7 separate regions of the Homo sapiens genome follow, and regions 1, 2, 3, 4, 5 and 7 are each linked to region 6. The links are contacts of gene promoters, found by promoter capture Hi-C in blood cells and fetal thymus (Javierre and others, 2016). All regions are on one chromosome and are shown on one strand. The core of a region is centred on a gene start or on the middle of the fragment in contact, and the rest is flanking DNA. Distances in the headings are between cores, read along the strand shown. Region 1 has its middle 130 kb from the start of UBE2V2. Region 2 holds the start of UBE2V2 (ubiquitin conjugating enzyme E2 V2). Region 3 has its middle 180 kb from the start of UBE2V2. Region 4 has its middle 210 kb from the start of UBE2V2. Region 5 has its middle 230 kb from the start of LINC02947. Region 6 holds the start of SNAI2 (snail family transcriptional repressor 2). Region 7 holds the start of LOC107986941 (a long non-coding RNA gene).

Region 1 (3,554 bases), core at 631-3,130, 780 kb after region 6:
GATGTGGCCGTGGGAGAATTTGACCGTGGGGGCTCTGTCGTTCACCTAGCTTCTGGTCCCATAACTAAGCAATAGCGGAAGAGTAAAGCAAAGCCAGAGACGGATAGTCCTGGGGCCTTGGCGACATGGTGGTGTCTCAGACAAACAAACCCTGCTCACCTATTTCTAGAATGTCGGCAATAGATCACCAGTTTCCCTACAGTTTAAGTCAACCTGAGTTGGGGTTTATTTTACCCGCATCCAAAAGCATCATGAGGTTGCGCTTCCTTCTCCCACGCCGCATGGCTGGCCTCCTTTCTGTCTGGAGCACGCGCCAAGCCTGCTCCTGCCACAGGGCCTTCGCACTGCTTGTTCCTGCGTGGAGTGCACTGTCCAGAATCTTAGCCAAACTGCTCTTAGTTCAAGCATCACCTGGTCACAGGGACCTCCCTGACCTCCTAGCTAGAGGACCACACTCCCACACCGCTTTTATGCCACACTTTCTGTCTTATTGCCGTCTTTACGCCACAGCATCTATCATTACATTACAAGGTCCTATTTATCTGCATGCTTTTTTTTTTTCTTGAGATGGAATCTCACTCTGTCGCCCAGGATGTAGTGCAATGGCATGATCTTGGCTCACTGCAACCTCCGCCTCCTGGGTTCAAGCGATTCTTCTGCTTCAGCCTCCCGAGTAGCTGGGTTTACAGGCCAGAGCCACCACAGCCAGCTACTTTTTGTATTTTTGGTAGAGACAGGGTTTCACCATGTTGGCCAGGCTGGTCTCAAACTCCTGACCTCAGGTAATCCGCCCGCCTCGGCTTCCTAAAGTGCTGGGATTATAGGCATGAGCCACTGCACCTGGCCTGCACATTTATTTTCTGCCTCCCCTGCTAGAATGTATGCCCGCACGAGGGCAGGGACAAGGGGGCATGTAGATTACAACCTGGTACTTAGTAAGTGTTCAGTAAATATCCTTTAAATAAAATGTGGCAAGAGAACACAGCACATTAGAAGGACTGCAAGTATTTCTGTGTGCAAGGCTAGCAGAGAAGGCAGGAGGGAATGAGAGGTAAATGCCAGATCCTTAAGAACCTTACATTGTATCCTAAGATTAATGGACAGCCACAGATGAACTGTGAGAAGGAGCACTATACACTGCAGCACAGCAGACAGGAGGGGAGAGACCATTCAGAAAACTGTTCCACTCATCTAGGCCAAGAAATGTGACTCAAACCAAAGACAGTGGCTTTGGGATGGAGAATACAGAATGGATTGGGTTCATGAGGCATTAGTAAAGGATTGGCGGCTTGGCCTCCCACTGAGGGCAGTGAGCTAATGAAAGGGAAGCATCAAGAACAACATCCAGGCTTCTGTTTGGACAGTGTGGTGCCAGTCATGGAGCCAGGGCCTGGCGAGGCAGCTGATTCGCATTTGGAGGAAATTAGTCTGACTCTGAATATGTTGATTTTGAGACACTCAGGACATTCCCAGGTAGAGATGCATAGTTACCATCAGAGACACAGGTCTGGAGCATAGAGGAAGGGTCTGTCCTAGAAACAGGGCCTGGAGATTGCAGTTCAGCCTTGAGAGTGTGGGGGTCATGCAGGAAGACCACAGAGAACCTAGAAAAGGAAGAGAAGACACCTGGAGACAAACCCTAAAGAGCACTAACATCTGAGAAGCATGGAGAGAGAAACTGCTAAGAGACTGAGAAAAAGTAGCCCAGATGAAGAAAACACCAGAAGTGCATGATTTTATGAAAGTTAAGAGAATATTGCAAAGAGGAGTGGTCAAGTGATATGAGAACTAAAACATGCTCATTTGACTTGGTAGCCAAGAAGTTTTTGGTAATCTGAGCAAAACCATTTTGGGGACGGTGGGCGCAAAAGCCAGATTGTTGTTGTTTGTGGAGTGAAGAGATGAGTGAGTAGGTATGACTCAGGGAGACCGCATCCTTCCTGGGTGTTCAGCTGTAGCCAGCATTCCCCATCCTTCCAGCTCCGAGGCTTCTTTCCAAAACACCAGGAAGGGAAATAACATTTGCTCTAAAATCGCTGGCACCATGACCATCTTTACTGTATAAATGACAGTGAAGTCACCTACTTTTGGAAGGGCACAACTTCCTTAAAACTGTCACAAAATTAAAATGCAAACAATACAGAAACGCATGATGTACAAGTCCTCTTCCCTCTCTCCCAAATCCTGTCCCTTCCCTCTGGGTAACTGCTGAGGACACTTGGCTGCATGCCCTTCCAGAACTTTTTCTATGTGTTTACATAGATTTCATTCAACAAGCACATTTTGAGTGCCTGTTGTCTGCTAGATCCCTTGTGCATAGAGATTTTTTTCTTGCTGCTTTTGAGATAAACAAGAATTTCACCAAATATATATTGGAGAATAAGTGTATGTATCTATATATCTAACTCGTGTTTTGTAATACCCCATAATATTTCACAAGATCTATATATGTACCAAAAATGTTTACTATTCCCCCCTTAATGGGCACGAAGGTTGCATCCAATTTTCACTATGTAATAATGCAAGATATATGTTATTGTTTATTCATTTTGTGTTTATAGGCAAGTATTCATATAAGACATATTCCAAAAATAGAAATACTGGGTCAAAAATGTGCATTTTTAACTTTTCCAGATCCTGCCAAATTTTGATGGCCATTGCTAAAATGGCACCGAAACAGCTGCACTCGAATGCACTGGGGGGTGAGAGGGCATCTTTTCCTGGGCCCCACCTCCTCAGATACAGTCTCAGCCTCCTGAACGTTGTCCAATCTCACCAATGAACCATGACATCTCACTGATGTTTGTATGTACATTCCCCTCATTTTTAGTGAGGATGAACATCTTTGCAGTATTGATTGGTCATTAGTAGGGTTTTTTTTCTTTTTTCCCTCTTGGGCTTGACTTTACTGCCTCTTCTATCATTTATCTTCTTCTTTCATTGACTGGTGTGCACTCTTCAACTATTACAGCTATGGCCTTTTTTCTGTTACATGTGTGGCAGATATTTTCTCTGGCTCTTTAGCTTGTGTTTAAACTTTGCTTATGGTGTCATTCACTAATCAGAAGTGGTTTGGTTCAAGGAGGGAAAGAGAAGGGAAACTGACATTTACACCAACAATATGCATATGTTGTCTCTTACATATATTTCATTAATACCTATAGCATCTCTATGACATAGGTATTATTATTTCTAATTTTTTTAAAGTAAAAATCTTAGGCATTAAAAGAGGTTACCTGCTCAAGATCACCCAGTGAGTAACTGAAACCTCACCTGGAATTCACATCTATTGGTACAATTCCAAAATCAAGTTTTCCCCCAAAGCATCTTTTCTAGTTTCATTATCTATTTCTGGGTAGATGTTTGAGGGGAATGATTAAATATAGGTTCTTGTAGATTATACCTTTATATAAAAGTGACAGATCCTTACTAAAAATTTAAAAATTAAAAAAAAGAAGTGGCTGGGGTTTCTATTTTGTTTTGGTTTTGTTGGTCAAATCTGTCTATCATTTACTCTATGGTTATTGGATTTTGAGTCTTGCCTAGTAAACCCT
Region 2 (3,807 bases), core at 468-2,967, 910 kb after region 6:
AAAGTATTTGCCATTAATATCATCTAACCTTTGGTCTTTTCAAAATATTAACATACACTCATGTATAGTGTTATGAAAAAATTGTGTTTAATAATGCAACCCACAAAAGGAAAATGAAAAGTATTAAATTAAAATGCATTATTTTATTACTAAATTTTCAAAAATCTATAAGAGGTCCTAAGCACAACTGTTATAAAGATATGGCCCCGTTAACGAGCACAGATTAGATTTCAGCAAGCACAGTAAAGTCATAACACTAAAATTCCACTTTTAAAACAATCCTTGCCTTACTAGCTAGCTGACCCAAGTATGTATACTACCCCAACACTAGAACTGCTAAAGATCTTAAAACCTATGACACCTATATGTAATAAAGATGTAAAAGACACCACTTAATTAAAATGTATGCAGAATGTATCCTGAGGTATTACTCTAAAGCAACAATTACAACATATATTCAAAGCCTTCCATTTCAGTACATATAGATTTGAAAATTCATTTTATTATGCAATGATGGCATAAACTATTAAATCACACTGCTCTATACTCTTGTTTCAACGAAGACTAGGAAAAGGCAGATCAGGCCGAGCGCGGTGGCTCACACCTGTAATTCCAGCACTCTGGGAGGCCGAAGTGGGCGGATCACCTGAGGTCAGGAGTTCGAGACCAGTCTGGCCAACATGACAAAACCCCGTCTCTACTAAAAATACAAAAATTAGCCGGGCCTGGTGGCACGCGCCTGTAATCCCAGCTACTTGGGAGGCTGAGGCAGGAGAATCACTTGAACCTGGGAGGTGGAGGTTGCAGTGAGCCGAGATCACACCACTGCATTCCAACTGGGCAACAGGGTGAGCCTCTGACTCAAAAAAAAAAAAAAAAAGAAAAGAAAAGAAAAAGGCAGATCACACGGGTTAACATTTTTAAATGTAAACTAAAGCTTAACGTTTTTAACATTTCTGAAATGGTCTAATGTCTAAAACCTCAACGTTAATACTTGTGTGCTCACAGGAAACCAAACATTGTATTCAGTAGGAAAGAGGAGTTGAACAGCTTATCTAAGAAACCACTTGTTCTTCAATTAGCTTTCATCTTGCTCTGGTCTTTTATTTTGTTTGCACTGCAGTTTTCCTCATAAATAATAAAAAGATCACACGTATTCAGTCAGGTAAGAAAGATCCTCTCGCTCTTATTTTAAGGAGCAATCGTCCTCTACTCCCCAACCCATGTCAAGGAGAGTCCAAAGGAATGGGACCCCTACTCTGATCCAGGACACCTCTTGGCCTGACCCATCTTCGGTGCCGGTTGGCCTGACCCATCTTCGGTGCCGGAGGTTGACACCCGCCCACCTTGGGCCTCCTCGCCTCCCTCCCGTAGAGCCTTCAGCCTACAACTCGGACCCGCGCCCGCCGGAACCTACGGGGGCGCCCGCGCGGGAGCCACCCCGCCCCCAGCCCGCCGGCGCGCGGCCGACGCGCGAGCACGACCCGCCAACCCGACGGCCGCCGGGGCCTCGGCGCCGGTCCCACCCGGTCCCAGGCTACGCTCTGCGGAGAGCGCGGCATTCGAGACAGCGCACTCGGGCTTCTCCCGCACGGTCAGCGCTCGGGCGCCAGCAGCAGACGGAGGGGCAGAGCCGGGTCGGAGCGGAAAATCACGCAGCCCGGCCCGGGAACCGACCTGTGGAGACCGCCATCTTCTCCTGCAGCCCGACGCAGCCGCCCGCACGCACGCACGAACCGTCGCGCGTCACTTCCGGGAGCGCGCCGCCCTGCACGCGTCACAGCGGACTCCGCCCCCGGCGGGCGCGGGGCGACCCGAGGGACAGCGCGCACGTGGGCCGAGGGGTCGCGGGGCCTCGCTGCTGTTTCCGCAATTCCCTTGTGAATCCCGCTCTCAAAATGAAACGCTAAAGAATAAGTTCATGAGGGCCGGGCGCGGTGGCTCACGTCTGTAATCCCAGCACTTTGGGAGGCCGAGGCGATCGGATCACCCGAGGTCAGGAGTTCGAAACCAGCCTGGCCAACATGGCGAAACCCCGTCTCTACTAAAAATACAAAAATTAGCCGGACGTGGTGGCGCGCGCCTGTAATCCCAGCTATTTGGGAGGCTGAGGCACGAGAATCGTTTGAACCGGGGAGGCGGAGGGGCAATGAGCCGCGATTGCGCCACTGCACTCCAGCCTGGACAACAGAGCGAGACTCCGCCTCAAAAAAATAAATAAAAATAAGTGGGCATTGACAGATTTGCGTTGATAAACGATTCAAAAGAGTTGGACAATAAATTTGAACAGCTAGGGATGCTGAGGTGGGAGGGTCACGTGAGCCCAAGAGGTGAGGCTGCAGTGAGCAGAAATCGCTGCACTCCAGCCTGGGCAACAGAGGGAGACTCCATTTCAAAAAAAAAAAAGAAAGAAAGAAAAAGGAAAGTAATACAGGCTGGGCGCCGAAGCTCACTTCTGTAATCCTAACACTTTGGGAGGCTGAGGCAGGAGGATGGCTTGAACCCAAGACTTTGAGACCAGCTTGGACAACATAGTGATACCTAGTCTCTACATAAAACTGAAAAAAAAAAAAAAAAAAGATTTTTCACATCCCTTGTAGGTTGTATTCCTAGGTATTTTTATTCTCTTTGTAGCAATTGTGAATGGGAGTTCACTCATGATTTGGCTCTCTGTTTGTCTGTTATTAGTGTATAGGAATGCTTGTGATTTTTGCACATTGATTTTGTATCCTGAGACTTTGCTGAAGTTGCTTGTCAGCTTAAGAAGATTTGGGGCTGAGACTATGGGGTTTTCTAAATATACAATCATGTCATCTGCAAACAGAGACAATTTGACTTCCTCTTTTCCTAATTGAATACCCTTTATTTCTTTCTCTTGCCTGATTGCCCTGGCCAGAACTTCCAATACTATGTTGAATAGGAGTGGTGAGAGAGGGCATCTTTGTCTTGTGCCGGCTTTCAAAGGGAATGCTTTTGGCCGGGCATGGATCCCAGCACTTTGGGAGGCGGAGGCGGGCGGATCACGAGGTCAGAAGATCAAGACCATCTTGGCTAACACAGTGAAACCCTGTCTCTACTAAAAAAAAAAAAATACAAAAAATTAGCCAGGCATGGTGGCAGGCCCCTGTAGTCCCAGCTACTCGGGAGGCTGAGGCAGGAGAATGGCGTGAACCCGGGAGTTGGAGCTTGCAGTGAACCGAGATGGCGACACTGCACTCCACCCCAGCCTAGGGGACAGAGCGAGACTCCATCTCAAAATAAAAAAAAATAAAAAATAAAAAGAATCCTTCATTCCAGTTTTCGCCCATTCAGTATGATATTGGCTGTGGGTTTGTCGTAAATAGCTCTTATTATTTTGAGATACATTCCATCAATGCCTAGTTTATTGAGAGTTTTTAGCATGAAGGGCTGTTGAATTTTGTCGAAGCCTTTTCTGCATCTATTGAGATAATCATGTGGTTTTTGTCATTGGTTCTGTTTATGTGATGGATTACATTTATTGATTTGCATATGTTGAAGCAGCCTTGCATCCCAGGGATGAAGCCGACTTGATCTTGGTGGATAAGCTTTTTTGATGTGCTGCTGGATTCGGTTTGCCAGTATTTTATTGAGTATTTTCGCATCAATGTTCATCAGGGGTATTGAGCCCACGTAGCCAAGGCAATCGTAAGCAAAAGGAACAAAGCTGGAGGCATCACACTACCTACCTGACTTCAAACTATACTGCGAGGCTACAGTAAAAAAAATTGCCTAGTACTGGTACCAAAACAGATATATAGATCAATGGAACAGAACAGAGGCCTCAGA
Region 3 (3,676 bases), core at 709-3,208, 730 kb after region 6:
AAGTTGCCTTATTCTCCCTTTCCTGAGATTTTGTACATATTGTTTTCCTGAGTAATGGTATTTCTAAGTTAATTTCTTCTAATCAGAGCTACCAAAATGTACGTGCTTTCAGTAAACTCCTATTTGGTTTTGTTTTTTGATAAATTTTTTAAAAAGAGGTGATTAAGTCATGAGAGTGAAGTCCTCATGAATAGAATTAGTGCTCTTATAAAAAAGGCTTGGGAGGCTGGGCGCAGTGGCTCACGTCTGTAATCCCAGCACTTTGGGAGGCCAAGGTCGGCGGATCACTTGAGGCCAGGAGTTCAAAATCAGCCTGGCCAACGTGGTGAAACCCCGTCTCTACTAAAAATACAAATATTAGTCAGGCATGGTGGTGCGTGGCTGTAGTCCCAGCTACTCAGGAGGCTGAGGCAGGAGAATTGCTTGAACGTGGGAGGCAGAGGTTGCAGTGAGCCGAGATCATACCACATCACTCCAACCTGAGCGACACAGCAAGACTCTGTCTCGAAAAAAAAATACAATATTATTCAGTGATTTTTTTTTTTTTTGAGACAGTCTCATTCTGCCACCTAGGCTGGAGTACAGTGGCACTGCACGATCTCGGCTCATTGCCACCTCTGCCTCCCAGATTCAAATGATCCTCCTGCCTCAGCCTCCCAAGTAGCTGGGATTACAGGTGTGTGCCACTATGCCCAGCTAATTTTTGTGTGTTTTCAGTGGAGACAGGGTTTCACCATGTTGGCCAGGCTGGTCTTGAACTCCTGGCCTCAAGTGATCCGCCCACCTCCGGCTCCCAAAGTGTTGGGGTCACAGGCACAAGCCATTGTGCCTGGCCAGGTGATTTTTAAAAATGAAGTACTGATGCATACCACACTGTGGATGACCCTCAAACACACCGTGCTCCATTAAAGAAGCCAGCCACAAAAGATGTCATAGTATATGATTCTATCTATATGAAATGCCCATTCATAGGCAATTCCACAGAGACAGAAAGTAGACCTACTAATCACCTGCATTATAGTTGAGCTGCTTCCTCCTCTGTGAAACCTTTCCTGACAGAAGCAGGCAGCCTGGCAGGGTCTGGTGGCATCAAATTGTCATTATTGACTAGAAAATAAGTTTCATAAAGGCAAGAATAAGAATTGCCTATTTTGTTCTCTGCTGTACCCTCAACACACCTAGAACAGTGCTTGGTATATAACAGGCAACAGCAAATATGTATTGCATGATTGAAGGACTAAAACTGTTTGCATGCCTCTGCCTTCCCCATCAATAGGCAGTGTCTTTAGGGAAAGAGAAGATTTCGTTCCATTCATATTCACGGCCCAGTACCCAAAGAAATAGCATGCCTGGCACAGAGTACTCAAGTACACAGCCAATAAATATTGGCTGAATGAATGAATGAAAAGGAAATAGGGCTAAAACTAGTTTTGACCCACTACCCTGGAAGAGCGTAGTTCTTCTCCGATCCAGATATTCAGCACTTGCTCCTTGCAGACATCTTCAGACCCAGGCAAGCCTCCTTGAGCTTCTGAGCCCCTGCTTCTGAGAGTGGCTCTTGGACTTTCCTTTCACTCACATGTGGTCTGTCTCAGACATGTTTCCATGTTGAAACGTCACCTAGTATCTCAACAGACCTGAACAATACTACAGATCATGTCATTAGCATATACACTCAGATCCAGTCATACAGATGATAAACGGAAAACAAACCAAGACCAGTTGAAGACCTGGGTGAAGTGGTAGGTCCCAGGGCCCAAACTAGGAGGAATCACTGCATTCATCATGCTTCCAGAGAGCCAGTGCGGGTCCTCAGCCAGAGAGAAGCAAACCTATGTAGCCTTTTATAAAGAGTGCTCAAAAAGTTAGACCCCTGCATAACCTCCCAGCACCTTTCAGGAATTCGTGGAAGAGATGGCCAGCTGATAGGCATTCATTTAAAAGACATAGTTCCTTCCAAAATGTACCATGAGAAAAATAATTTTTAACCCAGTTCAAACGTATATTACCCACTCTAACTAAAAGGCATGTATTAATTTTAATTAAAATAGTATTGAGTGTAACATGTGTTTCGTTGTTCTATTAATGCAAATCTAACAGGACATCCAGACTTTAGCAAGAGACTGCACTTCCATCAGCAAGGAGGTTGATGAATTTCATCAACAGTAAGAAGGAAATAGCAAGAACTTCATCATTATTGCATTGCCTTTTTATAGGGCTACCTCTAAAACTCAAAAACAAACACACTTGCACACACGCCCATATTATGAGCCCTCTATATATACTACAGCCAAAATTCTTGGCTCCCCAAGAGAGCTTTACATGGAATGTAATAAAGAAATACCCAGGAAACTCTATAAGACTTTTGACAAGGCTAATATTGGACAGGAACAAAACAAGACTACTGGCACCATCTCCTCTCAGCTCTTAAGTAAACTTGTCCCATTAAAAAGTAGCCTATGGAAGACTTTTGTCTCCAATGCATATGGTAGCTTATAAGAAGTAGAAGGGCTGCCAAGTTGTAGATGTGTTCAAGCACTCTTTACCCTCATTAAATAGCATTGCCTGGCAACCAAAGACTCCAACTGAACTTTACATGGGAGGATGGTGTTTATGGTGGTGTGAAGTATCGCTTAGAGCCACAGAGCACCCCAGCACCCTGCAGTAGAGCCCACTGTGTGCTGAGCGTCATTTCAGGCAGGACAAACAAGCCAAGCTGAGCTGCTCTAAGGACCCACTATTAAATCAGGAATAGTCCACACCCTGGGGAAGAGTTGAGCCACACTTGGCCACAGAACACAGACACCAAGCTCCATAGGTTAAGGGGAAATGGGGGAAGGGACAGAGCCACAGAGATGCACAGCATTGCATGGTCAGGAGCCAGTCCAGAGGGCCAGGGGTTTCCTGTGCCAAGACATGGTGCTGGGACTCCAAAGGGAAAGAAAAGCAATGCATTCCTGGGACATCCCCCTAGGGTTGCAGTTGAGAAGATTTCACCATGCCTTAGACCTAAGTAGATTTAGTCATTGGAAACTGGTCTTGCTGTATCTAAAATGTGCTTTCAAACCATGTATGGCAGGAGAAATCTGGTAATGTACCTTTATTTCTTGTAATCAAAAATGCCAATCCCTGATCTCTTCACATTCTTCCCGCAGTATTTCATGTCTGATTCCTAAGCCCACTTAGGTCTCATTTAAAGCAATGTTTCCAAAGAGTTTAACTACATGTTGATCTTTTTTATTTTTTCTTTGCAGATAACTATGTGACTTCTTGGTTGTTTTTAAGACTACTGCGCCACTCATTCCTACATTATTGACCTTGTTATCTTCTTTCTTGTTTAAAATATGTATATTACTATGCGTATGGAAGCATTTTCCCCCAGAAAGACAAGGAAAAGAGTGGGAGTAAAATAACTGGACTCTCACATTTCCTGTTGCTACTCAAAATGTGTGCATAGGTCACTTGAACTGGGAAATGGGAAAATCTGCTCACAAGTCCATAAAAAAAAGGGGGCTATAAATTTAGTTCTAGGACCTAAATTCCTTCTTTAAAGGAGTAGCTCATTCTATTATCATCATCTACAATTAACCCAACAGCACAGGTCATTCTATTTCCATTGCCACTAACCCTGCCTGCCACTTTTTTATGCCTCCAGGGCACTGGCCTGGCCACCTCC
Region 4 (3,465 bases), core at 293-2,792, 710 kb after region 6:
TATCTCATGCTTTCAATTTGCATATTTTAATTAGTAATGTTGAGCACCTTTTCATGTACTTATTGGCCATCTGTATATCTTCTTGGGGAAAATATCTATTCAAGTCCTTTGCTCATTTCTGAATTAGGTTTTTTGTTTTTTCTGTCGCTGAGTTTTAGGATTTCTTTATGCATACCAAATATTAATCCCTTACCAGATCAATGATATGCAAATGTTTCTCACATTCTGTATGATGCCTTTTCACTCTGTTGACAGTGTCCTTTGATACACAAAGTTCTTGATTTTGATAAAGTCCAATTTATTTATTTTTTCTTTTGTCAGTAGTAAAACGCTTGTGTCATATCCAAGAAATCATTCCCACATCCTGTGTCATGAAGCTTTTTCTCTATGTTTTCACCTAGGAATTTTATAAGTTTAGGTTTTACATTTAGGTATTTGATCCATTTTTGTAATATAGTATAGAGTAAGAATCAAAATTCATTCATTTGTATGTGGATATTCAGTTTCCGAATGTCATTTATTGAAAAGACTATCCTTTCTCCATTGAATGGTCACTCTTTTCAAAAATCAATTGACCATGTATGCAAAGGTTTATTTCTGGGCACTCTATTCTATTCCATTGGCCTATGTCTGTCTTTATGCTAGAATCAACTGGTTGTTTTTTTGTTTGTTTGTTTTTTGTTTTGGAGATGAAGTCTCATTCTGTCACCCAGGCTGGAGTACAGTCTTGATCTCGACTCATTGTGACCTCCGCCTCCTGGGTTCAAGCGATCCTCCCACCTCAGCATCTCAAGTAGCTGGGATTACAGGCACGTGCCATCACGCCCAGCTAATTTTTGTATTTTTGGTAAAGATAGCATTTTATCATGTTGGCCAGGCTAATCTCAAACTCCTGGCCTCAAGCAATCCACCCAACTTTGCCTCCCAAAGTGCTGGGATTACAGGTGTGAGCCACCGCACCTGGCCAGAACCACTGTTTTGATTACTGAAACTTTACAGCAAGTTTTGAAATCAGGAAGTTAGTGTCCTCCAACTTTGTTCTTTTTCAATACTGTTTCCACTATTTGGGACCCTTAATATTACACATGAATTTTGGGATGAATTTTTACATTTTGGCAAAAAACTCATTGGAACTTTGATAGGAATTGCATTGATTCTGTGGATTGCTTTGAGTAGAACTGACATCTTAACAATATTAAGTCTTCCTATCAATGAACCTGGGATGTCTTTCCATTTTTTATACTTTATTTAATTTCATTCAGCGATGCTTCGTAGTTTTCCATGTACAATTATTTAGCCTCCTGTTTTCTAAATTCCCACTTCAGATTTTTCATTGTCACTATAGAGAAATGCAACTGCTTTTTGCATGTTGAGTTTGTATCCAGCCTCTGAATTCATTTATTAGTTCTAACAGTTTGCTTTGGTTTATCTTTGTTTGTTGTTGTGGGGCCAGGGGGGAGTTGGTGCAGAATTGCTACAATTTTCTAAATATAGGATTGTGTCATCTGCAAACAGAAATAATTTTACTTATTCCTTTCTAATTTGTATGCCTCTTATTTCTTTTTCTTGCCTAATTGCTTCAGCTAGAATTTCCAATATTATGTTGAACACAAGTAACAAAAGCAGGCACCCTTGTCTTATTTCTGATCTTAGGGGAATTGCTTTTAGTCTTTTGAGTATAGTATAGCTATTGAGTATAGTGATAGCTGTGGATTTCTCATATAAGAGCTTTATTATATTGAGGTAGTTTCTATTCCCAGTTTGCTGGGCGTTCTTATCATGAAAAGGTATTGGATTTTCTCAAATACTTTTTCTGCATCAGTTGAGATGATCATGGATTTTCCCTTTATTGTGTTAATGTGGTATATTGCATTGATTTTTATGTGTAGAACCATCCTTGTATTCCAAGAATCAATCTCATTTGGTCATGATGTATAATCCTTTCAATATGTTGCTGAATCCAGTTTGCTAATTTTTTTGAGGATTTTTGTATTGGTATTCATAAAGGATATTGGTCTATGGTTTTCTTGTACTGTCTTTGTCTGGCTTTGGTGTCAATATAGTGCTGGCCTCATAGAATGAGTCAGGAAGTGTTCCCTTCTCTTCATTTTTTTTGGAAGCATTTGATAAATATTGGTGCTAGTTCTTTAAGTGTTTGGTAGAACTCATCAATTAAGATATCTGTATTCATCCATTTGTGCTGCTATAGCAAAATATCTGAAACTGGGTCATTTATACAGAAGATAAATTTATTTCTCACAGTTTTGGAGACTAGGAAGTTCAAATTCAAGGTGCCAGCAAGTCTGGTGTCTGGTGAGGGTCCAGTCTCTGCTTCCAAGATGGTGTTTTGAATGCTGCATCCTCAAGAAGGGAGGAAACTTGTGTATCTTTATATGACAGAAGGCAAAAGGGCCAAAAGAGATTAACTCCCTCCATCAAGGCCCTTTATAATAGCATTAATCTATTCATGAGGGCAGAACCATCATGACTGAAACATATCACAAAAGGCCCCACCTCCCAACACTGTGGCACTGGGAATTAAGTTTCCAATACATGAATTTGGGGGGGGATACATTTATACCATACCAACATCTGATCCTGGACTTTTATTTGTTGGAAGATTTTTGATTACTGATTAAATCTTCTTGCTAATTATAGGTCTACTCAAATTTTCTGTTTATTAGTGATTCAGTCTTAGTAAGCTTTGTGTATCTAGAAATTTGTCTATTTCATTTAGGTTACCAAATTTGTTGTCATACAATTGTTTATAATACTTCTTAATAATCCTTCTTATTTCTGTAAATCAGTTGTAATGTCCTCTCTTTCATTTCTAGTTTTGGTTATTTAAGTCTTCTTTTTTTCTTAGTCAGTATTGCTAAAGGTTTATCAATTTTCTTGATCTTTTTAAGAACTAAATTACTTTGGTTTCATTAATTTTCTCTATTGTTTTTCTATTCTTTGTTTTATTTCTCTCTGCTCTAATCTTTCTTTTTCCCTAGTTATGCTAGTTTTAGACTTAGTTTGTTCTTCTTTTTCTAGTTCCTTAAGGTATAAATGTAAGTTGTTAATTTGATCATTTTTTAAAATTATTTTTTCTTTGTCTTTGAAGGATTGGGTTAATTTGAAAGCCTTGTCTTTGAGCTCTGTAATTCTTTCTTCTGCTTGTTTGATTCTATTGCTGAAACTCTCCAGTGCGTTTTGCATTTCTCTAAGTGTGTCCTTGATTTCCAGAAGTTATGATTGTTTTTATCTATGCTATCCATTTCTCTGAAGATTTTTCCTTTCATATCCTGTATCATGTTTTTTATTTCTTTAAGTTGGAGTTCACCTTTCTCTGGTCCTCCCTGATTAGCCTTAATAATCGGCCTTCTGAATTTGTTTTCTGGTAATTCAGAGATTTCATCTTGGTTCGGATCCACTGCTGGTAAGCTGATGTGACCTTTTGAGGGTACTAAAGAACTTTGT
Region 5 (3,907 bases), core at 967-3,466, 640 kb after region 6:
ATTTTCTCCCCTTCTGTAGGTTGCCTATTTACTCTGTTGATAGTTTCTTTTGCTGTGCAGAAGCTTTTTAGTTTAATTAGATCCCATTTGTCAATTTTTGCTTTTGTTGCAATTGCTTTTGGCATTTCCGTCATGAAATCTTTGGCAGTTCCTATGCCCAAATGGTATTCCCTAAGTTATCTTTCAGAATTTTTAGAGTGTTAGGTTTTACATTTAGGTCTTTAATCCATCTTGAGTTGATTTTTGTATGTGGTATAGGGAAGGGGTCCCGTTTCAGCATTCTGCATGTAGCTAGCCGGTTATCCCAGCACCATTTATTGAACAGGGAATCTTTTTCCCCATTGATTGTTTTTGTCAGCTTTGTCAAAGATCAGATGGTTGTAGGTGTGCGGCCTTATTTCTGGACTCTCTATTCTGTTACATTGGTCTATGTGTCTATTTTTGTACAAGTGTCATGCTGTTTTGGTTATTGTAGCCTTAAAGTACAGTTTGAAGTCAGGCAACATGACTTCTCCAGGTTTGTTCTTTTTGCTTAAGATTGCCTTGGCTATTCGGGCTCCTTCTTTGGTTCCATATGAATTTTAAAATGGTTTTTTCTGTTCTATGAAGAATGTCTTTGGCAGTTTGATAGGAATACCATTGAATGTAAATTGCTGTGGGCAGTATGGCCATTTTCACAATACTGATTCTCCCTGCCCATGACCATGGAGTGTTTTTCCATTTGTTTGTGCCATCTCTGATTTCTTTGAGCAGTGTTTTATAATTCCCATTGTAGAGATCTCTCCCCTCCCTGGATACCTGTATTCCTAGGTGTTTTGTTCTTTTTGTGGCAATTGTGAATGGGATTGCATGCCTGATTTGGCTCTCAGCATGACTGTTGTTGGTGTATAGAAATGTTAGTGATTTTTGAACATTGATTTTGTATCCTGAAACTTTGTTGAAGTTGGTTATCAGCTCAAGGAGCTTTTAGGCAGAGACTATGGGGTTTTCTGGATATAGAATCATGTTGTCTGCAACAAGGGATAGTTTGACTACCTCTCTTCCTATGTGGATGCTGTTTATTTCTTTCTCTTGCCTGATTGCTCTGGCAAGGACTTCCATTACTATGCTGAATAGAAGTGGTAAGAGAGGGCATTCTTGTCTCATTCTGATTTTCAAGGGGAATGCTTCCAAAATAAAGCTGTTTTTTGAAAGCAAGCATTAAAATATCCTAAAAATGAAAAAAAGAAGAAATGAAGAATGAAAGAAAGAAAAAGAAAGAAAGAAAGAAAGAAAGAAAGAGGGAGGGAGGGAGAGAGGGAAGGAAGGAAGGAAGGAAGAAAGAAAGGAAGGAAAGAAAGAAAGTCAAACAAGTGTTTCCTCCCTCTCTATTCAAAGGCACAGCCACCCTACACCTAGCTATACTGCACTGTACTGTACTGTACTGTACCACACTGTACTATGCTGGACTACATTGTACTATACTACACTTACTATACTGTACTATGCCACACGAGACTGTGCTATACTATGCTGACCTGCACTGTACCATACTAACCCTGCCATACAGTACTGTGCTATGCTGTAGCATACTGTGTTGTCCTGCACTGTGTCATACAGTGCTGACTGTGTCATACAGCACTCTGTCATACGGCACTGTGTCATACAGCACTGTGCCATACATCACTCTGTCATACAGCACTGTGTCACACTGCACTGTGCCATACAGCACTGAGTCACACTGTACTGTGGCATACTGCACTGTGCTATTCAACAGTAGACTATGCTGTCTGCATTAGGCCATACTGCACCATGCCATACTCTATTCTACTCCACTATCGACAGCAAAGCTTACCACAGCACAGTGGAGACTAAGCAGAACATGCCACACTTTGCATTCATCATTTACTTCATGAACTTAGCACTTGCTTGACACCTTGTGCTCTGCTGGCACTGGGATGTCTAGGAGAACCCGTGTGGCCCACTCACTCCATGAGCTCACAGGTTCAGCTGCTAACTGGCCCACCCCTACCTTACGACTGAGTCAAAACCACAAATCAGACTCTGCCAACCCTACAACGTGGAACTAAGTCTTTGACCTAAACTTATATTGTAGTAAATTTCTGTATCTCCACAATAGGCTTCCATCCTTCTCCCTCAAACCCATTCCCTCCTGCTTCTTCTTCCAGCAGGGCAAGGAAGAGGCAGTGGCGCTGCGGAAGGTGTGCAGAGCGCCTTTCAGCCCCAGCACGGCGACCTTGCCTGTTGTCTGTGGAGTAGGATGTGGGGAATCCAGAGGGCTTGGTGAAAGGAACTCAGGGCAGGAGCGCTGCTCCCTCACTGTGAGCTCCTGGACCAGAAGACAGGAGCGTTGCATTACCATCTCTCCCCGAATTTAGGAAATGCCCCTTTCCCCGCAACGGCATCTCCAATTTATTATCCAAACAATAAATGAGATGGATTCGGTGGTTTCTGAGGCTCATAGCAGCCCCTGAGTGGCCATCTCCTTGCACAGCCCTTTCAGAGGACAATGCTGTCCTTCCCCTACACCACCCCAGTCACCAGGCCTCTCTAGCTTTGCACCAATAAATAATTAAGAGGAAACAATTCGCCCTGCAAGCTTGTCATGTGAACTTCTCCACAGACTCCAGGCAATGTGGGAGCAGACAGTGCATGTGAGGGGCCCGGGCCCGGGCCTGTCCCTATACCACAGCAGGCAACACTGCCAAAGGCCTGTGAAGGCAGCTAGATGGTCAGCCTCTGCTAGAAGCTGCCCTCCTCCCCTAGTCAGCACAGGCTTACTCCCTCCACTCTCTCCACCCACCCCTCCTCCAAACATCTTTCTTAAACAGCAATGTGACACCTACACCCCAGGATTAATGAGCTGAAGATTAAGGTGGCTCCACTCTAAATAAATGTTTATTTTAACCAAGGAGTGAACCAAAAGAATGATGTCTAAGAAATGAATGTCTAATGGCAAAATTTCAGATATCTACTCTCTGGCTGGAGGAGGACACACAGTCATCCTGAAACACCTAAAATCCCATCAGGTAGCTGCGAGCTGATCTGAATCTTCAGCCAGAGCTGTATGAGACTGGACCTGGAACTGCAGTCTGTCTCTGGGAATCCTGACTCTCAGTGTAATGAGCGCTACTCCAGTGCCATGATCAATCAGGCTGTGCCCATCAACACCTCCGAACATGTTCCCGCAGTGTCACACCGCACCGCACAGTGACCATTGTTTACCCCTCCCTCCTCACTGTCTCTGTCCCTCTACCTTTGCCTCTGGGGAGCCCAGTGCAGGATGGGGCTCAAAGCAGACACCCCATGAGCGTCTGGTCCACAGAGAACTGGGGGTATGGGTGGGTATGGAAGAGAAGTCCAGGAGTGGGAAGCATGAGTGGTAGCCAAGCAAAAGTGGGTGTGAGTCACGTGCTGGTTCTCAGCTGCTCACATCGGGAGGCACCTGAGGTCAAGTCACCTGGAGCACAAAGGCAGGAGAGCCAGAGCACATGTCGCAGTCATAACCAAAGCTCCAGGCCCGGATGTTCAGGACGCCGTCAAAGGACACAGCCTTCACCGCGTTTAGAGTGAGGAGAGAGCACACCCCTCACCCTCTTCGCCCGCCTTCCCAGGCATCCGCCCACTGCTGTTCACTTACTCTACTTACATAGGAAGTCCCTGCCTTCGACCCAGAGCTCTGGGATCAAATCCAAGAGAGGGTGGCCTTTTCTCATAGGTGGTAGAAGGGGAAGGTGGCGGTGAACTTCCTCTGGGTGCTCACAGGCGAGAACGATGCACAGCGGGTGCTTTGCTAGCAGGCAAGGCCACCCAGGACCGGTCTGTGCAGGAAGGATTGTGCCCTCATGGACTTGGGTGCTGCTGGGGGTGGTAAGGGGGGAAATGATGCAGGGGAAAATGATGTCAG
Region 6 (3,882 bases), core at 15-2,514:
CACCTGTTAGAAACAAGAGTAGGGTGATCTTCATGTGAATTTGTTCTTTCCTTATTCTTTTAGCAAAAGATAGGGATAAAAGTCTGCAATGGACAGAGATGCTTTAAAATATGCTTGAAATTTTATATTTAAAATAAACCACCTGAAAGTATTTTTAGATTGAAGACCATACACAAAATAAAGGTGTTTTTGCAGTTACTAGACTGGGTTCTTAAAACTTTAATCAATCTATATTCATAATAATATCCTTCAATTTCTTTTTTAGCATTATACAGGAAACTGGTAGATACTGAGATGGATTTTAATGGCTTTATACTGATGAAAATAGCACCACATAAAAGCAGGGGAATATTAGAAATAAAAATAATTGTCTCTAAAGACCCATACAACCCTTTTTCCCATAAAAAAAAAGATGCACTGTAATACATGAAAAGATAAGATCTCTTGTCAAAAGTGTGAGAGAATGTCCGGTGGTTCCAAATGACAGTTACCTCTTGCCCCCCTTCTCTGCCAGAGTTCCTTTTTATCTTTGCAATCTTCCAGTTCTTCCGATCAGCCTGCCTTTAGAGGGCTACAAAGCATTTCTTTCAAGCCACCATAGCTAACACGGTGACATGAGTACTTAATTTGCACGCGGCCGCGCTGCCCCTGGCTTCGCGGAAGCCCTGAGTAGCGCAGCGCCCTCGCCGCACGCAAGGCTGCAGTCCCGCTCCAGGCCAGAGTCCCAGGAGAGCGTCCTCCGCGCTCACAGGCGCCTTTGTCTTCCCGCTTCCCCCTTCCTTTTTCAAAAGCCAAGAGGTAATTATTTGGTCTTTGTGCAAGGCAAACCTCTCCAGATGCCACTTCCAAATATAGGCTCTCATTAACACCAGAGGCTGGCCTGGTGTGGTGCAGGGCGGCCCTTCCTTCTCCTGGCGGACACTGTGTCCCCGCGCGCTGGCGCTGCACCACATCTGGAAGCCAGGCGGGCAGGGCAGAGACCCCGGCTCCTGCGCCCCTCCTAGCTCCCAGAGAGCGTGGATCGCGGGCGGGGCTCACCGAGCGAGGTTACCTCTCTTGAAAATACTTAAACACTTTTTTTCCTCTCCACTGAAATCTCAAAAAACAGCCCATTTTGAACCAGAATAATTTAGTCTGACAACAGATTCTTCCTCTGTTCACAGCTGTCCCAGAGGGAGGAGCTGAAATCTGAACCTCTCAGCTGTGATTGGATCTTTCTTGCAAAAGAGAGGAAAAAAAAACCCTCCCAGCCAAAACGGGCTCAGTTCGTAAAGGAGCCGGGTGACTTCAGAGGCGCCGGCCCGTCCGTCTGCCGCACCTGAGCACGGCCCCTGCCCGAGCCTGGCCCGCCGCGATGCTGTAGGGACCGCCGTGTCCTCCCGCCGGACCGTTATCCGCGCCGGGCGCCCGCCAGACCCGCTGGCAAGATGCCGCGCTCCTTCCTGGTCAAGAAGCATTTCAACGCCTCCAAAAAGCCAAACTACAGCGAACTGGACACACATACAGGTAAAAAGAGAAAAATATATCTAGAACTACGTATCTAGAGCTTTGCAAATATGAATCTACGTATTACCCTTCAAATACCATTACAAAAGAGCCAAAGATTCAACTGTTTTCCTTTTTAACAGTGTCCTGAAAGGGAGCTTACATTCTTTTGATCATTTAGGGTTCGTTTTAATTCAAAACTTTTAAAATTCTTGACTAACAAGGAACATTTCATTCAAATCTCGCAGCTTCGTTTGCTAAAGCCTGTGTATACATGCATAATGAGTATGTGAAAGATGAGCAACATAAGGATTGAATTACTGCGTTTTTCATGCACTAAGTCTCCTTTCCTTTAGAAGGCGGCTTGATGCAGGCATATCTTTGTACTCACGGTCGTAATACACCTAAATAGCCCATACGTAACATGGAAAACAACTTTTCTGTATGTTTAAAAATAATGTTGAGGCTCTCCTTCCTCAATGGGGACGGCGAAGGCACTGGCTTGGCTGCACTGTCTGACTTCAGAGCACCTATAGCTCCGTGCAGCTGTCAGCCTATGTGTGCATTAAGTACAGTAACTCCGTAGGTGCCAGGGTGGAAATGAAACATTTTACCAGTGTGTATGCCCTCCTAAATGGGTCTATCTTCTTCCTAAGAAAATCACGTGTGTGTTGCTAAATATCTTTCCAGTGTGTGTATACTTGCGTGTGGATTTATTTTTAATTATTTTTGCCTTAATCTTCTCTCCCTCCCTTTTCTTTCCCAGTGATTATTTCCCCGTATCTCTATGAGAGTTACTCCATGCCTGTCATACCACAACCAGAGATCCTCAGCTCAGGAGCATACAGCCCCATCACTGTGTGGACTACCGCTGCTCCATTCCACGCCCAGCTACCCAATGGCCTCTCTCCTCTTTCCGGATACTCCTCATCTTTGGGGCGAGTGAGTCCCCCTCCTCCATCTGACACCTCCTCCAAGGACCACAGTGGCTCAGAAAGCCCCATTAGTGATGAAGAGGAAAGACTACAGTCCAAGCTTTCAGACCCCCATGCCATTGAAGCTGAAAAGTTTCAGTGCAATTTATGCAATAAGACCTATTCAACTTTTTCTGGGCTGGCCAAACATAAGCAGCTGCACTGCGATGCCCAGTCTAGAAAATCTTTCAGCTGTAAATACTGTGACAAGGAATATGTGAGCCTGGGCGCCCTGAAGATGCATATTCGGACCCACACATTACCTTGTGTTTGCAAGATCTGCGGCAAGGCGTTTTCCAGACCCTGGTTGCTTCAAGGACACATTAGAACTCACACGGGTAAGAGAAAAACCATAGGCAGGAATGTTACTCTGAGATACAATGAAGCCCTGGGCTGGCTGTTGGATTTGCATGAAGTTGTGACATAGTGCTTTTAATGATGGACAGTCATTGATAGCTACTTCCTGACTACTCAAAAAGTTGTTAGGGCACAAAGTGCTCCATTTCTTGCTAACAACCTCTGCTCCAGGGACTGCAAACAGCATGTAGACTTTGGAAAGTAGATTCAGAAGGTTTGGTCTCAAAGATCAGTTAGAAAATCAGGAAAGATGTGCTTGAATGTGTGTTCTGTGAAACTGCCCCCAGTAATCAGCAAATACAAATGTTGCTATCTTAATCAATTGATTTGGTTAATAGATGAAGGCTTTTCCTACAGTTTTCTGTTAGTTACATTCTTGCTCTGATATTTGTCACCCGTGGGTGACTTGGATAGTTGAAACTAAATTTACTTTGCCTCTCTTGCTTTGTTTGGGGATTTTTTGCTCCTTAATTTCTTATTCGTATCACAGAATTATTCTGCAGGGTATCATGGCACTTAGACCACCTTAATCATAGTACAGAAAGAGGGAAAAGGGGAAATATTGGGAAATGTTGGGAGGTGCTCAACATTAGCTGCATCTGCTAAAGCAGAAAGCTTTAAGAAGTGAAAGTCCAAGAACTACGTAAATTATTTCTGTATGATTGGCAGCAGTAATAATATTCGTGTATGATTTTTAAATGCAATATTCAAGTTTATCTTAAAAATTCAGGTATTTTTAAAAGTGTCTATTATGAGGGATTTTAATCAGGTTTTGCTGCTTCTCATTATTTAAGCAAAATGTGATTGACTTTTGTTAACATGATTTTACTTTATGTTTCCTCTAAAAACACTGACTGTCTTTCTTTTTTTCTCCCACTCCACCCCCAGGGGAGAAGCCTTTTTCTTGCCCTCACTGCAACAGAGCATTTGCAGACAGGTCAAATCTGAGGGCTCATCTGCAGACCCATTCTGATGTAAAGAAATACCAGTGCAAAAACTGCTCCAAAACCTTCTCCAGAATGTCTCTCCTGCACAAACATGAGGAATCTGGCTGCTGTGTAGCACA
Region 7 (3,491 bases), core at 729-3,228, 820 kb after region 6:
GACAGCAAGGATGAGAACATCAGTTTTCTGACTCGGAAAATGGGTTGTGTCTGGAGGAGAGCTTATTATTAAGCTGGATTAAACCACACTAAAATAATGTCTCTGCAGTCAGCTAGATGATCCCTATCAACGGCCTTCAGTGAGTTGATCCATAGTGACACAAAGCAAGGTGCTGTTCTTAAGGTGCTGTTCTTAAGGTGCTATTCGCAAGGTGCTATTCTTAATCCCCGCAAAACATGAAAATAGGCAAAGTCATACAAATCCTGAAATGATTGAAATATGGCTAATATGGCTCCCTAAGAAAACTGCCAACTCTGATAAGTCAAGGAGAAATAGAGATTTAGTTACTGTATCCCCCTTTCCATTCTGCTTTCTCTTTCTTTCCTTTTTTTTTTTTTTTTTTTATTTTGGATGGACTCTTGCTCTGTTGCCCAGGCTGGAGTGCAATGGCACAATCTCGGCTCACTGCAACCTCCATCTCACAGGTTCAAGCAATTCTTCTGCCTCAGCCTCCCGAATAGCTGGGATTACAGGCACCTGCCATTATGCCCGGCTGATTTTTGTATTTTTGTAGAGACAGGGTTTCACCATGTTGGCCAGGCTGGTCTTGAACTCCTGACCTCAGGTGATCTGCCCGCCTCTGCCTCCCAAAGTGCTGGGATTACAGGCATGAGCCACTGTGCCCAGCCTCTTTCCTCTTTTCTCGGAGGTCTCTTTTCCTGCCACAAAAGCCAGAAATTACCAAATAAAAACAAGCCCTTGAAATCATATAAGGCTATTTGCAGGGACTGACTCAAAAAGATGATTCTGATATCTGTCTTCCTAGAACTTTAATTTTTATAGATGCCATATTTATAAACTTCATATTAATCCTAATATCTCTATTCAATTTATCAAATGAATATAGCAAGATATCTAAGCAATTCAATATTTCAAATTTTCTTATAATTTTATCATAGTTCATTAAATGATCTTCGATATATTAAAACAAGATAAACCCTGTAGATATAAAGACTATAGTCAAATCCCTGTTGAGACATAACCAAATAAGGTGGCAAAAGTGATAAAATAATAATTTAGGGCCCTAGAGAAAATATGGGTTCTAATTCAATACTGGAAATACTAGAAATTCAATCAGAAAGCAAACAACAGCCCTCCTGGCATTTGGTTTTCTCAACCAATATTCTGATGTTAACCAACAGTTTTATGTCCCTGGTAACTCTGGTACATTCTCTGTTTGCTTATCTAAGATCAGTCTCTGTTTACAATGGGTTTCCTTTTTTTAAAACTGCCAGGGGCCAGGCACGGTGGCTCATGCCTGTAATCCCAGAACTTTGGGAGGCTGAGGCAGGCAGATCACTTGAGGTCAGGAGTTCTAGACCAGCCTGGACAACACAGTGAAACCCCGTCTCTACTAAAAATATAAAAATTAGCCAGGTGTGGTGGTACGTGCCTGTAATCCCAGCTACTCGGGAGACTGAGGCAGGAGAATCACTTGAAACCAGAAGGTGGAGGTTGCAGTGAGCCAAATGGTGCCACTGCACTCCAGCCTGGGCGGCAGAGCAAGCTTCCATCTCAGTCAATCAATCAATCAGTCAATCAATAAAAATAAAACTGCCAGGATCATTTGAGGAAACTCTATCCATAGTTTCTCTGAACATGGTTGCCACATATTGAAATGGCACATAGCATTTCATAAAAGGAAGTGTGGGCGTGCTCCCCTCGCAGGTTTCTGAACCCTCATCCCTGCCTCCCACAGCCAGGCTGGCTCCACCTCGCCGCATGTCTTCCGCCAACAGACTCAGAACTACAAGGGAAGGGAGTCGTACTCAAGGTAACCTACTTTTTTAAGAGCAACAGAGGAAGACAAAGGGCTTCAGAACTACCTAGGTTTCACTTATGTGTTCACAGCATGATATAAAAAATGAATCTTCAGGAGAATCAAAAGGAAAAGCACCTTCATGCTCTGAGGACATGCATTTGGTTTCTGATGAGTCTCTCTAGAAACCTGTGTTTTTATGCACACACTCCTCTCACCCAAGCTGGACTCCCTCCATGTACACAGCGCTGAATGCTATGGTCGGCTCTGATTTCTGTTGTGTCACATGAAAGGCAATTGCAATAAAACATGTATGCACATTTTTACGTTTATAAAGTGCCTGATACTAAACAAGTCTGGTATTTGCAAAATTTCAGCTTTTATTTAGCAAAACCAAAAGTAAAACAAACAAATGCCCTGTTTCTCTTAGGAACTGCCTACTGGCAAAAACAGCTCTGGTCAAACACAGGAATTTTTGCTCCCAGAAGGCCAAGATAACACATGTGCCTATAAATAGCAAAGAAGCTGTTCTGGAAAGTAATACATGAAAATGGGCTATGTCAAGCTTCTTTCTCTCTGAGTCTTGCATCAGCCCCAGTGAATTTCCTCAAATGGCTGCCTTGCTGAGCCTGCTTATTTTCAAGTCAGTCTGGTCACCTCCAGCTATTGCCTTCACTACCAGGTCAGAAGAAACAGATGGGCTTTTTGCAGGTACTACTTTATCCAGAGCACTGCCAAGTGACACCATTACTCACCCAGATTAGTACTGTTTTTCTCTGAATCATCAAGGCTGTTAACTGTAACAACAGAATAGAAAGCACTATGTTATTCAGGTGTTCTTTATTTAGCTTAAGTTTTAGGTGTCTCCACTACTTCCCAATTCAGCTGGATGGGAATTGACAACTTACTTGATGAGCTGGTATTTCAGAATTCAGTCAGCTCCAGTTTTAGCAATATTCCACTCCTTTCTTTGCATATTGCCAACCAGGAACGTCTGTCCTGGAAAAACCAAGGAGGCAGAGTAAGATGGTAGAACAGATGGCTCCACCAATCTTCCTTCCCCTGCAAGGACACCAGTTTAACAACCATCTACACACACAAAAAAAAAAAAAACCTTCATGAGAACCAAAAATCAGGTGGACACTCACAGTACCGGGTTGTAACTTCATATCACTGAAAGAGGCACTGAGGAGTTAGGAAAAACAGTCCTGAATCACCAATGCCACCCCTCCCCAACCCCTGGCAGTGGCTGCATGGTGCCCAGAGCATCTCTGTGCACTGGGGAGAGGGAGAGCATAGCAATCGTGAGGCCTAAAACTCAATGCTGCCCTGTTATAGCAGAAAAGAAAGCCAGACCAAACTCAGCTGATGCTCACCCAGGAAGGGAGCATTTAAATCAGCCCTGGCCAGAGTGGAGATGCCCATCCCAGCGATCTGAATCTGAGCTGCTACAAGCCTTGCCACCATAAGCTGAAGTGCTCTGGCACCCTACATCAACTAGAAAGGCACTCTAGGTCACAAGGACTGCAACTTCTAGGACAATCCTAGTGCTCAACTGTGCCCAGAGCCAGAGGATTGGGGGGGCACATGACATACTGAGACACCAGCCAGGGCAGCTAAGGGAGTGCTGGCATCACTCCTCCCTTAACCCCAGGCTGCACGGCTCATGGCT

The links. Contacts are between HindIII fragments. The CHiCAGO score rates a contact against its expected background, and 5 or more counts as called.
Region 1: a contact is called between a fragment that was not itself captured here and the fragment with the promoter of SNAI2 in region 6, in 1 of 17 cell types (endothelial precursors). The highest score is 6.0, in endothelial precursors.
Region 2: the fragment with the promoter of UBE2V2 here is called in contact with the fragment with the promoter of SNAI2 in region 6 in 2 of 17 cell types (endothelial precursors and total CD8 T cells); the score reaches 6.3 in endothelial precursors.
Region 3: a contact is called between a fragment that was not itself captured here and the fragment with the promoter of SNAI2 in region 6, in 1 of 17 cell types (endothelial precursors). The highest score is 9.1, in endothelial precursors.
Region 4: a fragment that was not itself captured here is called in contact with the fragment with the promoter of SNAI2 in region 6 in 1 of 17 cell types (endothelial precursors); the score reaches 6.1 in endothelial precursors.
Region 5: a contact is called between a fragment that was not itself captured here and the fragment with the promoter of SNAI2 in region 6, in 3 of 17 cell types (endothelial precursors, M1 macrophages and monocytes). The highest score is 11.1, in endothelial precursors.
Region 7: a contact is called between a fragment that was not itself captured here and the fragment with the promoter of SNAI2 in region 6, in 2 of 17 cell types (M2 macrophages and endothelial precursors). The highest score is 7.0, in M2 macrophages.

What each region holds. Positions count from the first base shown.
Region 1 is chr8:48,139,617-48,143,170 of GRCh38, reverse strand. No RefSeq gene overlaps it. Among named protein-coding and RNA genes, the nearest start is that of UBE2V2, 130 kb to the right of the region's middle. The HindIII fragment of the contact is 4,612 bases long and covers 1-3,554 here.
Region 2 is chr8:48,006,341-48,010,147 of GRCh38, reverse strand. It overlaps UBE2V2 (ubiquitin conjugating enzyme E2 V2), which reads right to left and starts at 1,717. Exons shown (of 4, transcript NM_003350.3): 1 at 1,678-1,717. The coding sequence starts at 1,693. RefSeq lists silencers at 1,322-1,521, 1,752-2,011. The HindIII fragment of the contact is 2,629 bases long and covers 940-3,568 here.
Region 3 is chr8:48,188,421-48,192,096 of GRCh38, reverse strand. It overlaps the pseudogene LOC100287157. Among named protein-coding and RNA genes, the nearest start is that of UBE2V2, 180 kb to the right of the region's middle. The HindIII fragment of the contact is 6,922 bases long and covers 1-3,676 here.
Region 4 is chr8:48,212,578-48,216,042 of GRCh38, reverse strand. No RefSeq gene overlaps it. Among named protein-coding and RNA genes, the nearest start is that of UBE2V2, 210 kb to the right of the region's middle. The HindIII fragment of the contact is 2,325 bases long and covers 380-2,704 here.
Region 5 is chr8:48,281,979-48,285,885 of GRCh38, reverse strand. No RefSeq gene overlaps it. Among named protein-coding and RNA genes, the nearest start is that of LINC02947, 230 kb to the left of the region's middle. The HindIII fragment of the contact is 770 bases long and covers 1,832-2,601 here.
Region 6 is chr8:48,918,811-48,922,692 of GRCh38, reverse strand. SNAI2 (snail family transcriptional repressor 2) reads left to right here and starts at 1,264. Exons shown (of 3, transcript NM_003068.5): 1 at 1,264-1,506; 2 at 2,252-2,797; 3 at 3,705-3,882. The coding sequence starts at 1,428. It overlaps LOC107986942 (a long non-coding RNA gene), which reads right to left and starts at 1,136. Exons shown (of 4, transcript XR_001745895.3): 1 at 492-1,136; 2 at 1-3. RefSeq lists an enhancer at 1,074-1,153. The HindIII fragment of the contact is 2,868 bases long and covers 1-2,522 here.
Region 7 is chr8:48,100,574-48,104,064 of GRCh38, reverse strand. LOC107986941 (a long non-coding RNA gene) reads right to left here and starts at 2,818. Exons shown (of 3, transcript XR_007060907.1): 1 at 2,728-2,818; 2 at 2,575-2,616. The HindIII fragment of the contact is 817 bases long and covers 1,570-2,386 here.